2 separate regions of the Homo sapiens genome follow, and region 2 is linked to region 1. The links are contacts of gene promoters, found by promoter capture Hi-C in human tissues and cell types (Jung and others, 2019). All regions are on one chromosome and are shown on one strand. The core of a region is centred on a gene start or on the middle of the fragment in contact, and the rest is flanking DNA. Distances in the headings are between cores, read along the strand shown.

Evidence for each region. Contacts are between HindIII fragments. The study calls those that stand out against the background at their distance.
Region 2: a fragment that was not itself captured here is called in contact with the fragment with the promoter of SPAST in region 1 in 1 of the 25 tissues and cell types used here (hippocampus).

Annotation. Positions count from the first base shown.
Region 1 is chr2:32,062,216-32,064,915 of GRCh38, forward strand. It overlaps SPAST (spastin), which reads left to right and starts at 1,341. Exons shown (of 17, transcript NM_014946.4): 1 at 1,341-2,031. The coding sequence starts at 1,617. RefSeq lists enhancers at 1,135-1,204, 1,253-2,053 and silencers at 1,425-1,564, 1,625-2,044, 2,075-2,204. The HindIII fragment of the contact is 21,143 bases long and covers 1-2,700 here.
Region 2 is chr2:32,121,512-32,124,421 of GRCh38, forward strand. All of the region lies in intron 7 of SPAST (spastin), which reads left to right. Among named protein-coding and RNA genes, the nearest start is that of SLC30A6-DT, 43 kb to the right of the region's middle. The HindIII fragment of the contact is 5,069 bases long and covers 1-2,910 here.

The DNA of each region.
Region 1 (2,700 bases), core at 91-2,590:
GTCCAAAAAATAAAAAAATAAAGCTGTGGCAGAATGTGGAGATTCTTGGAAGCTGGAAGCTCTCATGGGGCATTTGGAAACCTCACATTGTAAATAACGGAGTCTTTTTATCAGTTTGGCTTCCTTAGTTTTAGGAAACAAGAAATAATTATGGCTAACTCAAGTAAAAAGAGAAAGAGAAGAGAAAAAAGACGTGGAGATAGAGAGAGAGGGAGAGAGAGGAAAAGACGAAAGGAAGGAAGGGGGAAAGGAGAGAGGAAGAGAGAAACAGAGAAACAGACTGATTAGTGTATTGGATAGATTACATAACCAAGTGACCAGTCAGGAACCCAGCAGCTCTGGGGGAGCTCAATGTGATGCATTGATAAACCCGCTCTTAAGAGCACTCGTTTCCAGTTACTTTCTATTCGGTGGGTCTCCAGCCAAGATTCCAGGTCCCAGGAGAATCTGACTGACCTAGTGTTTGCTTCCGCCTTTGCGGTCTGGGTTCTGTGCTTGCAGCTCATTAGAATACAGGGAGCAGAGACAAGCAGGTAGTTTCCCAAAGGAAGGGATGCTGAGTAGATTAAAAAAAAAGTGTAGATTCTTCAGTAAACTATGGGATGGTAACTATGCAAAACCTAAGATTTCCCTTATTCAAATAAATTATCTTTCATATTAGACATCTAAATATGCACTAATTTAGTTAAACCCCTGGGTTAGTTGATCTCATCACACTGAGCTAACATTTTTGTTGCTGTTGTTTGCAGTGACCTGAAGTTTCTTATCTTCACAATTGCTTTCCTCTCAAATAATTCCCAGATTTTAAATTTTTATTTTATTTTTTCTGGAGACGGAGTCTCGCTCTGTCGCCCAGGCTGGAGTGCAGTGGCGCGATCTCAGCTCACTTGCAGCCTCTGCCTCCCGAGTTCAAGCGATTCTCCGGCCTTAGCCTTCCAACCAGCTGGGACTACAGGCGCGCGCCCCCACGCCCGGCTAATTTAATTCCCAGATTGATATCCATTGCTTCTGAGATGGGCCAATTATCCTTCGGAGAAGACTTAGGTCGCCTGGCAGAAAAAGATGAAAGAAATCTAAGAAAACGACGACACTGAGAGAGGAGCCTAGCGAACCAGCAGAGCGACCCCAAGCCGCAATTCCCCCTTCCGTGGATCGATTACGAAGGCTTCCTGGCAGGAGCTCTCCAGGGCTGCCGACGTGAGCCGAACTGCACATTGGGAACTGTAGTTGAGTGGGAAAGCCGAGAGGCGGGGGCCGCACACGCGTACAGGGGCCCCGGTCAACAAAGACGCGCCGTGCGCGCGCGCGCCGGAGAAAAACACGGGAAGACGTGCGCGTGCGCGGCCGCCGCTGGGAGCCACCAGGCGGCGGAGAGGACAGCGACAGGAAGGGAGGGGCCCGAGCCACCGACTGCAGGAGGAGAAGGGGTTGTGCTCCTGGCCGAGGAAGGAGAAAGGGGCGGGGCCGGCGGGCAGCGTGCGGCAGTGCGGAGCTCCTGAGACCGGCGGGCACACGGGGGTCTGTGGCCCCCGCCGTAGCAGTGGCTGCCGCCGTCGCTTGGTTCCCGTCGGTCTGCGGGAGGCGGGTTATGGCGGCGGCGGCAGTGAGAGCTGTGAATGAATTCTCCGGGTGGACGAGGGAAGAAGAAAGGCTCCGGCGGCGCCAGCAACCCGGTGCCTCCCAGGCCTCCGCCCCCTTGCCTGGCCCCCGCCCCTCCCGCCGCCGGGCCGGCCCCTCCGCCCGAGTCGCCGCATAAGCGGAACCTGTACTATTTCTCCTACCCGCTGTTTGTAGGCTTCGCGCTGCTGCGTTTGGTCGCCTTCCACCTGGGGCTCCTCTTCGTGTGGCTCTGCCAGCGCTTCTCCCGCGCCCTCATGGCAGCCAAGAGGAGCTCCGGGGCCGCGCCAGCACCTGCCTCGGCCTCGGCCCCGGCGCCGGTGCCGGGCGGCGAGGCCGAGCGCGTCCGAGTCTTCCACAAACAGGCCTTCGAGTACATCTCCATTGCCCTGCGCATCGATGAGGATGAGAAAGGTAACTAGGGGGCTGGGGGAGGGGGCGGCGGCGCCGGGAAGAAGGCGGTGGGGTCGCCGGGGGAGGGCAACACCTGCGTCCCTTTTCTGCGGGAGGGGACGGTGCACCCCCGGAATTGATATGCCCCGGGAGACTGCTTTCCCGTAGGTCGGAGCCTCATCTTCTAGTATTCTTAAAACCTCTCCCCTTTCAGGGCACTGTAGCTGTCGACTTTGTTTCAGACACCAGCCTTCCCCCACACTTCTGCATGACCCAGGTCACTATGAGACACCCAGACGTGTTGATGACAGTGACATTTGTCCTAGAGTGACCACACTGATCCTTTCTAGCACTGTGAAGAGTGTGCAGCTTCCTCTGAACCAAGGTTTCCAAAAGGTTTTGATATTGAAGAAGCAGTGCCGCCTTACTGGCTTTTAATGAAAGCAGAGTATTGTAGTGTCAGAAAAAAAGAACAAATGGTGACAATTTTGAAAGAAATAGCTGCATATGACTGCAGTTGAATTTGCATCATTTTAATCAAGATAATCATTTTATCAGTACAACGATTCCTGAATACTTTTTCAATGAAGTTATATTTAGCATAAAACTTTTCCCCCTGTTGCTTTGATTTTAATTAAAACAGTATTCCAAAGTAGCCTTTAATTTCCAAGTTGAAATGTTTGATGAATG
Region 2 (2,910 bases), core at 383-2,882, 60 kb after region 1:
GTTTTTTTGTTTCATCTTTCTCACTTTTTTTTTTTTTTTTTTTTTTTAAGACACAGTCTTGCTCTGTCACCCAGGCTGGAGTGCAGTGGTGCGATCTCAGCTCACTGCGCCCTTCGCCTCCTGGGTTCGAGTGATTCTCCTGCCTCAGCCTCCCAAGCAGCTGGGATTACAGGTGCCCACCACCACCATGCCCGGCTAATTGTTGTATTTTTAGTAGAGACGGAGTTTCACCATGTTGGCCAGGCTGGTTTCAAACTCCTGACCTCAGGTGATCCACCTGCTTTGGCCTCCCAGAGTGCTGGGATTACAGGCATGAGCCACCGTGCCCAGCCCTATTCTGATTTCATAGATGCAGTGTCTTTTATGTCTCTGAGAGGTTTTGTCAAGTTTTCTTTTGTTTACTTTATTATCTGTTTCTTCAAGATTCCTCCTCTTTTCTTTTTGCCTTAAGCTTTTTCATATTGGAAGCTTCTCTCAAATGTCTGGTTATTCTGGTTGTCCACTTATATTACGTGGAACAATAAAAAAGTTGATTAGGACTCTGTGCTGTAAGTAAGTAAATTGTTGATAGTGAGAGCCCATTAATCACAGGATGATCAAGCAGCAAGCCTACTGTTTATTTGGGTTTCTCCAAATGGCTATAGCTGTCAGTCTTTTTTTTCTGGGGTTATTTGGCTTCTCTAGAAAAGAATTTTCTAGTCTCTTGTTTGGAGAATACAAGCTTGACTATTGGTGTTCCAGAAAATGGGTGGGAGGAGACGACTTTGTTTTCTGTTAGGTTGAGCCATGTGAAATTACTAGGTTTTGTTTTGTTTTCTGTTTTGTTTTGAGACAGAGTCTCACTCTGTTGCCCAGGCTGGAGTGCCTTAGCATGATCTTGGCTCACTGCAACCTCTGCCTCCCAGGTTCAAGCAATTCTCATGCCTCAGCCTCCCAAGTAGCTGGGATTATAGGCATGCACCACCACGCCTGGCTAATTTTTGTATTTTTAGTAGAGACGGGGTTTTGCCATGTTGACCAGTCTAGTCTCGAACTCCTGACCTCAGGTGATCCACCTGCCTTGGCCTCCCAAAGTGCTGGGATTACAGGTATGAGCCACCACACCTGGGCTGAAATTACTGTTTTTATAGGTCAAAAACAGTTGAGGGATAGGCATGGTGGCTCCCACCTATAATCCCAGCACTTTCAGAGGCCAAGGCAGGAAGATTGCTTGAGTCCAGGAGTTCGACACCAGCCTGGGCAATGTAGTGAAACCCCATCTATATTTAAAAAAAAAAAATAGATGAATATCTTTGTTTGCAGATAACATGATTGCATATGTAGAAAATCCCAAAGAACCAACAAAAAGAGCTCCTAGAACTAATAAGTGATTATGACAAGGTGTAGAATACAAAGTTAATATACAAAGTCAATTGCTTTTTTATCTACCAGCAGTGAACAACTGGAATTTGAAATTAAAACACAATACTGCTGGGTGCAGTGGCTCACACCTGTAATCCCAGCACTTTGGGAGGCCGAGGTGGGCAGATCACCTGATGTCAGGGGTTCAAGACCAGCCTGACCAATATGGTGAAACCCCATCTCTACTAAAAATACAAAAATTAGCTGGGCATGGTGGCGGGTGCCTGTAATCTCAGCTACTCAGGAGGCTGAGGCAGGAGAATCGCTTGAACCCAGGAGGCAGAGGTTGCAGTGAGCCAAGATCGCGCCATTGCACTCCAGCCTGGGGGACAGAGCAAGACTCCGTCTCAAAAAAAAAAACACAATACCTTTCATATTAACACTAATAAAATGAAATATGTGTAGTTCTAACAAAGTTTGTTGTAGAAGATCTATATGAGAAGAATTATAGCACTCATGAAAGAAATCAAAGATCTAAGTAAACTGAGAGATATTCCATGTAAATGGACAGGGAGACTAAATATTATTGAGATGTCAGTTCTTCCCAAGTTCATATATCGATTCAGTGCAGTCCCAGTCAAACCCCAGCCAGTTATTTTGTGGATACTGGCAAACTAAAGTTTATATGAAAAGGCAAAAGACCTAGAACAGCCAACACAGTATTGAAGAAGAAAAAAGTCAGAGGACTGAAACTACCCAATTTCAAGACTTACTGTAAAGCTACATTAATCAAGACAGCATGTCATTGGCAAAAGAATAGACAAATAAATCAGTAGAATTGGACAGAGAGCCTAGAAATCAACCCACACAGATAAAGTCAACTGATCTTTGGCAAAGGGACAAAGACAATTCAGTGGAGAAAAGATAGCCTTTTCAACAAATGGTATAGGACAACTGGACATCCACATGCAAAAAAGTTAATCTAGACACAGACCTGACAACTTTCACAAAAATAAATGGATCATAGACCTAAATGTAACATGCGAACTGAAACTTCTAGAGGATAACATAGGAGAAAATCTAGGATAACATGAGAAAAATTTTTGGTTTGGCAGTGACTTCTTAGGTACAATACCAAAACATGATCCTTGAAAAAAAAAATCAGTATGTTGAACTTTGTTTAAATTATAAACTTCTGCTCTGTGTAAGATGCTGTTAGGAGAATGAAAAGACATGCAGCAGAGTGGGAGACTTTACAAAATTCATTATCTGATGAAGGACCAGTATCCAAAATATACAAAGAACTTTTAAAACTCAACAATAAGAAAATATACAACCCAGTTAATAAATGGGCAAAATATCTGAACAGACACCTCACCAAGGAAGATAGATAGATGACAACAAGCATATGAATATATGCTCAACATCATGTCGTTAGGGAAATTGCGCATTAAAACAACAACAAGATACCCTGCCATCCCTATTAGAATGGCTGAAATCTAAAACACTGACAACACCAAATTCTGGCAGGGATGTGGAGCAGCAGAAACTTTAATTCATTGCTGATGG